3 separate regions of the Homo sapiens genome follow, and all the other regions are linked to region 1. The links are contacts of gene promoters, found by promoter capture Hi-C in human tissues and cell types (Jung and others, 2019). All regions are on one chromosome and are shown on one strand. Each heading gives the region's core, a stretch centred on a gene start or on the middle of the fragment in contact. The rest is flanking DNA. Distances are from core to core; before and after follow the strand shown.

Region 1 (2,700 bases), core at 140-2,639:
GGCTACTCTTCTTCAGAACAGATCCTACTGTATTACAGAAATCACCAACTCATAACTCATACTGCAGAATTTACAAACAACACAAATACAAACACAAGAGAACAAGAATCTCAATCCAGAAAGTCGTTTAACTCTTCCAACATTAAAAAGATGTTGCTCACAGTCAAACTTACCAATGTGAATTACAAGGGCTGAAAGTCAAGGGAATGAATGCAGAATAGAACAGACTAAAAGGTTTACTAGACATTTTAGGAGTGAAAGATTGAAGGAAATGAGAGGTAGAGTGATTCCCATACCGACATGGGCTGCATCTCTACCCAGCCCCCTTCTCCCTCTCAGTCTGTACTCCCACTGGAGCACGGAAGATACAGTCCAAGGAGCCAGACCTGGCTCCCAGGTCTTCCAGGGATGCATCATCAATGACCGTTCCTCTGTCATCATGCCCGCGCTCCAGGCAGTTGCAGAATTCGAAAAATCAACCGCCAACGGGGTAGTAGGCCCCCGGGAAATCAGAGGCCATATCTATGTCCAAGAAGGCCTTCCCCTCCAAAGGGGGCGGCATAGAGATGATACCTGGGAACTGTTGTTTCTTTTGGGGTCCAAACGCCGAAAGGCCCAGCTCAGGGTTGGGTATACATATAGGGAGACTACTTCCTTCTTCCAGGAGGGACGCAATCATCCCAGCTTCCTAGGGCCCATGGAAGGTAGAGTTCACTCTACCAGAGTTTGTTTCCGATTCCCTTAACTTCGGTTTCCCCTTCCTCCAAAGCCAAGATTCTGGTTTCTTTTCAAGCCCTATCCACGAATGCAGGCCTCCCGCGGATTATGTCCCATTCCTGAGTTCCCCTTTGGCTCCTCACCGCCCTGGCCTATCTGCCCTCCAGTTAACGAGGGTCCAGTCCTGACCCTATAGGCCCTGAACCCATTCCTGTTTTGCCTCTGACTGCAGACCCTGGACCCCGATTCCCGTCGCAGGATCTGCGGACCCTAAGCCCATCTTGGTTCCTCAGCCTCACCACCCAGGTGCCGGCCTCTCAACCCTCACCTGCGGGCCCTGAGCGTCGCTCCCAGCTCCCGGCGAGGCGGGCGCTTTCCGCTTCCTGCTAACTACTTTCCGGGCCATAGTGGGCAGCGCCGCCGCGGCCCCGCAGCCACATGGGGCGGGGGAAGCGAAGGATAGCAGGACGGCGGGTCATATACTGGGCCCCGGGGCCGCGCACCTTAGTGCGCCCGGCCCGGAAAATGGCCCGGACCCGGAGCGGCAGCAGAAAAAAGATAGGCGGAAAGAAAGGAAAGAGAGAGGAAGGACTTGAGCCGGGAAAGGGAAGGGGAAGCGAGAATGAGCGGCTTTCCGACGGCAGAGCCTGCAAGGACGGCGAGCGGCTAGAACCAAAACACCCCCTCCCCCTTGCTCGCGCGCCGTCACCCTTGCGCAGCCGCACTTCGGATAGCGTCGCCACGGAAACACCGCCGGAACGAGATGGGCGGGATCTAGGGGTTGGAAGATAGTTCTCTGGTGTTTCCCGGCCGCCGCCAGGCCATTTTCAACGGTTGTTTGGCTACTGCTGGATGGAAGTGGACGAGCTGGGGCCAAGGGAATCTGGCTTCTGGCCGCCGACCTCCGACCCCAGCCCGCCTATCCGCAGGCACCCGGAAGTGAGGACCACCAGTGCTGCTGGGGGAAGGAATCCTCCCTAGTGCAGGCCTTAACCCGGTTACCTCCCATCTGGCACCAAACGTTTCCCTGAATCTGTCACAAACCGTGCCCTGGCTCCAAGGGCTGGACAGGGGGGTGGGGGGGTGGGGGGCAGGAACCGCTCCCACCCTCGAGGTGAAGTCCAGTCAGGAAGTCAGGGCAGTGTGGCCAGACTTTCCCACCACTGAGAACCTGCCCAGCACAACCAACCCAGGCCGCCCTACGAGTCTCTGGCTACCCTCTTCCCACCGCTGGGTAGCCCTGAGGCTCCATTCTCCGCTCTGTCTCCTCCTGATCCTTTCTCCTGTCCGAAATGCTTCAGCCCCTCAGTCAGTTTCAGCTCCTCAGTCACCTTCCCCTTACGGTGCAACTTCACCATTCCCTTTAGATTTCCATGACCTGCCATCTAAACCACATGGTCTTTTGTGCTTTATGAAGTAGTCATCACGCTGTAAACTTATCTGTAGCTGCCTGCCTCACTCTTGGATTCAGGTTGCGTCTCCATTAGGGCAGGTCGGGAATTCTGAACTACAGGAAAGAGAGTGGTCATTTTTGGCTTGCCAGTCCAGTTAGAGCTGGCATTGGCCTCCAAACAAGGGGGCTTCATCAGGATCACCCTTGCCAACATTTTTGGAAGATCCTGAAGGAATATGACTGCCAGCCTTCGCTTTCCTCAAGCAAACAAACCCTCTGAGGAAGCAGGATGCTCTTGCTTGGGGCTGATTGGCCTCAGGCTGTGGTGCCCAGTTACCTGCTGGTCACTTCAGGCTTCAGGCCTCAGGCCTCATACCTCCAAGGAGCTCTGTTGGACCATCTCAAGTTCTGTCAACAAGGAGATTTGGATTTGTTTTCCAAGCCGAATCAAAGACCAGATTGAAGCAGGGTCTCCTGCCATCCCAAGTCGGCACTACCACTAACCCCTAATGTCTTGCGAAAGGCAGCTCCATCTTATTTGGTCAGGCCTGTCCCTTTAGAGATATGCACATAGTGAGTGGGTCAGGAGT
Region 2 (2,700 bases), core at 15-2,514, 340 kb after region 1:
TTCCTTTCTTCCATAGCATGCATCACGGTTTGTAATTATTCACTTATTTGTGTAATTATTTGATTATTGTATGTCTCCCCCATTAGACTGTGAGCTCCTTGGGAGCAGGGCCTGTGGATGTTTTTGCTTATATCTGTATTCTCAGCCCCTAAAACAGTGGCCATGATGACGTCAGAAGCTCTTGATGAATGTTGAATGAGTGATCAACTGTGGTTGGGGAAGTAGCACAGGGTTCTATGGAAGCATGTGGTAGGGGGTCTTCATTCTGATTCTGGGGGAATTAGGGAAGACTTCTGGGGGGACCACCAGTATTTAAGGTTTGGATAGAAGAAGAAGAGTCCAAAATGGAGAATAAGAAGGAGTAATCAGAGAAGTAAGAAGACAACAAGGAAAAATAATATCCCAGAAGCCAAAGGAAGAATGTGTTTCAGTGAAACTGTATGGTCAGCCAAGTTGCATGTTGCTAAGGTGTCAATGAAGATAAACACTAAGATATAACTATTAGATTTAATAACTTGGAAGTTATTGGGGACCTTGGAAAGGACAATTTCAGAGTGAAAAGCTAAACTGAATTGAGCTAAGAAGGCAGTAAGAACTATGTAGGCAAAGATTGTTTTTTTAAGATGACAGACTTGAATATATTAAATGCTGAGGGGAAGGATCCTGAACGGAGAGAGAAGTTGAAGATAAAGGAGAAAGATTAAATAATGACTAGAGCCAAGTCTCTGAGGAGATGATGTTGTGGACAGGAGGAGGCACACTTTGTAACAGGACAGGAGAAGGGATGGATGCAGTTGATGATAATTTTGAGGTTTAGCAGCAGAAAGCTGAGACAGTTTTTTCTTCTTTTCCCCTAGTTGTGTTAATGGAATTCCTTCTGGAAGTGATAACTAGAAAACAATTTTTGCCAATGGCAGTTCCATTTTGTTATGATTATAGTCATGCTATTTTCAGAGTTATGGTCTGAGGTTTGTCATGCACAATTATCAGATTACAAAACAGCTGTGAGCATTTGAGGCCAGAATTTGTTTTCCTCCCCTGTGTACTAGGGGGCCTAGCACATTGTTAGCACTCAGTACATGCCAGGTACTCAAATAATAATGGCAGAGGGCTCCTGTGCTCGTTGCTGGGCTTTGCAGCCTGCAAGTTGATGCTGAGGAGTAATGTTGACTCTCTGGCTCCAGCTGTGAGCAAGCCACATGAAATTGTTTTCTGCCAGTTAGGAATTTGTATCAAGTGTTCAATCTTTGCAGTCACTGAGCACTGACAGAGTTGTATGCAAGAAGCAAGCAAAGGACACAGCTGTTGTAACTTTAGTTTCACTGGTTTGAGTCTCACAACGCTTTGTCCTACTCATAGAGTCACTGGATTCTGGTTTGTATGGTGGATTTATGTCCTCCATTTATCTCACCTCCTAGATTGAGAACCCTGGGTGTGAGAACCAACTCAATCTTGGTTCCTCTTTAGCCGTCATCCGAGGACCTGGCACATAGTAGATGCTTAATAAATGCTGAATGAATGAATAATGACTGAATGAGTTAGTTGATGAGTGAATAAATGAGTGATGGGAAGGTATGTACTGCACTACTCTGAACACTAACTTTTCTTTCTTGGCCTGCAGAAGAAGCAATTCATGCCTCCTTTATCCTAGTTAAAGCAGCCTAATCCTATTAATTATGTAGGGACCCTACCCCTAATGTTAAGCTTATTTTTCTACTTTTATTCTTACATCACATCCATTTGCTCATTTACTTATTTTCTCAATGTGTCATGTATTCAGCCTCAAATCTTATTTGGGAACAAACTGGAGTGTATATGGACAAAATAATCTGCTGCTCCTTGGAGAGTCATCTGCTTCTGTGCCTCTGTGTCTTTGTTAATTATTTTGTTCCCTCTGCATGGAATGCCCAAGTCTTCTCTTCTCTTTCTGCCCTTTACAGACCTGGCAAACTCTAAGACACATTACTTTAGTTAAGCTCTTTAAGTTACAAAGAACAGAGGCTCACTCAAGTTACCTCAGATAAAAGAGGATGAGAGAAGGGAGAAGGTATATATGTGGGGAGTTACAGATGGTTATTATAAGTACATAGATAACCTAGAATTGAAATTGGAAAACAATTAATTCTGAAACAGGTATAGGGACCAACTACTTTCTCCACATCTCTCACAGCCTCTCTATTTCTCTTAACAACTATGTTTCATTCTTATTCTTATTTCCCAACTGGCCAGATTTCCATGGTCTCCGCTCCCTCATAATTTTAGTCTGTTTCCAGCTTATCATAACTGTTCTGACCTCTCTACCTCACAAACATTTCCATGAATATCTCCATCCAACTGCTGGTTCTCCCTGTAGTCCTAGTTCAAATTCTTAAGGAGGGAATCTGATTGACCCTAGCTCATCTGTTCATGCTAGGCAATGTCAGCAAGGGACAAGATCCTATGGCTCTTTAAGCAACCAAAGCTAGAAGGAGGTATTCTCTTTGCTCAGCTCCTCCAGTGGAAGATATAACTCGCTTTACTCTAAAGTAACTTCCATATTGTTTCTGGTAAATCTCTTTCTCATGAATTGTGCGGGAAGGGGCCTCAGGGGCCTCAGATTTCTTCTAGTCCAATGCTTTCATTCAGGGCTGATATTTACATTACAAAAGGTCCTGTCCTTTACAAAAGCCTTTACTATAGGGTTTTAAAAATAGCACATTT
Region 3 (2,700 bases), core at 70-2,569, 400 kb after region 1:
CCCCCTGGGAGATGGCTGCCCCCATGACAGGCAGCACCCTCAGACCAGCACAGACAGTGGAGCTGCCTCAATGGTGAGGCCCATGCCGAGGCAGGACTCTGGTATGGCCGGCCTTCAGAGGAGGCTGTGCTGTCTGCACGCTCAGTGATTCCTGGGCAGTGGAGATGTCTACCTGCAGTCCTGAGCCTGTTGGGGGTATACAGTAAAGGAGAGGGTGGTGAGGAGGAAGGGTGGGGTGAGGCCTAGGAGGAGAGAGGTAGGGAAGAGAGCCTCCCTCCCACATTTCTGGCCTCCCTGGTGAAAGACCTTGGGTCCCAACAGGCTCGAATACCCCACAGAGCCATCACCCCCATCCACAGGCTTGGTTCTGGCCACCTGAATGAGTGTGTAGCCACCGTGGGGAAGCTGCAGTAGGCAGCCGTCATCTCATTCTCCTTAGACCTGGTGGGCATGCCCTGGTCCTGCCCACCAAGCTTGCAGCCCTCAAAAGCCCTCTGTTGGTGGGTGGGATCCAGGAAGCCCCCAGCCCAAAAGGATGGGGGTTGTAAGCAGCTCTGGTGTGGCCTGGGCGCCTCCTCTCTCCCAGGACTCCAGCCAGCCCGACCAGGAGACCTCCAGAGGCGCCAGCTTGCACAGAGGGAACTTTGTGGAGGCCCTGGCAGGCATGTGCAGGCTCTGTGCGTCCAGGGCTGTGTGCCTCTATGTGGGGCTGCCTCTCTGGGTCAGGTGTGTGTGTGTGTCTGGTGTCTCACTGTCCCTCCGTTGGATGTGTGCCTGTGCCTCTGCACACCCACCTCTGTGTGTGTGGCTGCCTCTCCGTGTGTCCCCATCTCTGAGTATGTCTCCTCTATGTCTCATTTCTCTACCAGTGTGTCTCTGTGTATCTCTGCATCAGTCTCTGTGTCTCTCTCTCTCTTCCAGGCTGTATCCCCCTCTGTTCCCATGGACGTGTCCCTATCCCCTTCTCCGTGGGGTCTTTTCGGTGGTTCCTGTGTCTCTGTCTTTGTGTTCGTCTCTCTCCGCGGCAGTGTGTCTCTGTCTCTTTATCTCCATCTTCGGGTCGCGTGTTCTTGGCCCCCGTGCCCGTGGCGGGAGGCCCTTCTTACCTGAGTTGAGCCTGGTGCGCGCCCGCGGGAGGGTCCGGGGCAGCGGGATGCTCGGCGCCGACTAAGGCTTGGGAGCCTGCGGGCGGGGGGCGGCGGGAGGTGGGAGACCAGCAGAGGCGACGTCCGCTCCCCCGGCCCTCCCCCTCGGCCGCGCAGCCTCCACCGGCCGCTCCCGCCGCGGCGCGACCGGGGCGGCCTCTGCCGCGGGCGGTCTGCGGTGAGCGGGCACCTCCTCCCCTTGGGGCCGCACCTCCTCCGCGGCCGCGGCGCTCGCTCGCTCGGCAGCGCTCGGGCGGCGGCGGCGGGAGCTGCGCGGTGTTCGGCTGGGCTCGGCTGCGTTCGGTTGGGCTCGGCTGGGCTCGGCTACGTTCGGCTGGGCTCGGCCGGGCTCGGCGGCCAGCAAAAACAGCGAAGAGCCTCGCCTCCTGGGAGGCCGGCGGCCTGCGGCCCGGGGGCGGAGCCATCCCAGCGCCGCTGCCGCCACTCAATTGGCTGGCCGAACCCCGGTTCCCGCACCATTGGTGGTGCGCTGAGGTGGGGACCAGCCCGCCTCTCGTGCCGGCGCGGGGCGGGAGGAGGGCCGAAGGAGTAGCTGGCCCTGGATCCTTCCCGGGAGAGGGGATGGGGTGGGGGCAAGGCCTAACCTCTGGTAGGGATTTCTTGCACCTTCTACACCTGGAAGGGTTGTACACCCCACATCCGAGAAAGGCCAAGGCCTCTGCATTTCCACATGTGAGGAAACCACCCCTCTGTATCTGGGAGAGGTCTCTTAAGTAAGTCATCCGGAGGAAGGCCCCGCGTCCCCACACCTGGCAGGAGACTGAATCTCCTCACCTAGGGAACCGCCTATAGTGCAGTCCCGCACTTCCCTCTGCCACCTGGGTGTGGACTCTGCATTCCCACTTTAGAGGGCCCCAGGTTCCCTGGCCCTAAGAGGTGTGAAAATCTCTGGCAACACAGGTTCTTTGGACACATTTACTGAGTTCCTACCCAGTGTTGGTCGCAGGCTTGCTGCCAGGCTGTTGGGGAGTCTGGGACAGAAATGGAGTGTCCTGAGCGATGGTTCTGCCCTGGCTGGAATAGGTGCAGGCGTGGTGGAAATCCTGCCTTGCCATCCTAAAAGCTCCCCTAAGAAGAAGATAGCTTGGACAGGAGCAGTGAGGTAGACCTTGTCCTCCCCGACCTTCACAGGCCAGTGATTGTCACCTATTCTGATCCGGCCGTCTTCTCATCCCGCTCTACATGCTCTCCTTGGAGGATCACATCCCTGAAGCTATATCATGAAGACTCCCAGTGCTCCCAAGTCTAGCCTTAACTTCTCTCTGGAATCCTAGACTCATATAACTAAGTGCCTACTGTAATCGGGGCAGTATTGATTCCTGGTTCACTTACTAACTTTGTGATCTTGAGCAAGTTACTAAATCTCTCTTAGCCTCAGCTTCCTCATCTGTAAAATGGTTGTAATGCTACCTCTCAGGGTTGTTATTCACTAATTTATAGCAGATCGATCACATCTCAGCAAATGCCAGCTGACACAACCCCCAGGACCATGTGACTAAGAGGCCCCTTCCCCCAATCCAATGCCATGAAATTC

Evidence for each region. The method cuts DNA at HindIII sites, captures the fragments that hold promoters and counts their contacts. A contact is called where the count stands out against the background at its distance.
Region 2: a fragment that was not itself captured here is called in contact with the fragment with the promoter of DCAF12 in region 1 in 1 of the 25 tissues and cell types used here (dorsolateral prefrontal cortex).
Region 3: a contact is called between the fragment with the promoter of ENHO here and the fragment with the promoter of DCAF12 in region 1, in 1 of the 25 tissues and cell types used here (IMR-90 fibroblasts).

Annotation. Positions count from the first base shown.
Region 1 is chr9:34,125,309-34,128,008 of GRCh38, forward strand. It overlaps DCAF12 (DDB1 and CUL4 associated factor 12), which reads right to left and starts at 1,390. Exons shown (of 9, transcript NM_015397.4): 1 at 1,046-1,390. The coding sequence starts at 1,123. RefSeq lists an enhancer at 939-1,640 and a silencer at 1,075-1,124. The HindIII fragment of the contact is 26,684 bases long and covers 1-2,700 here.
Region 2 is chr9:34,464,587-34,467,286 of GRCh38, forward strand. All of the region lies in intron 1 of DNAI1 (dynein axonemal intermediate chain 1), which reads left to right. Among named protein-coding and RNA genes, the nearest start is that of DNAI1, 7.1 kb to the left of the region's middle. The HindIII fragment of the contact is 7,861 bases long and covers 1-2,700 here.
Region 3 is chr9:34,521,671-34,524,370 of GRCh38, forward strand. It overlaps ENHO (energy homeostasis associated), which reads right to left and starts at 1,320. Exons shown (of 2, transcript NM_198573.3): 1 at 1,107-1,320; 2 at 1-186. The coding sequence starts at 25. RefSeq lists an enhancer at 64-616 and silencers at 1,246-1,355, 1,376-1,745. The HindIII fragment of the contact is 6,325 bases long and covers 1-2,700 here.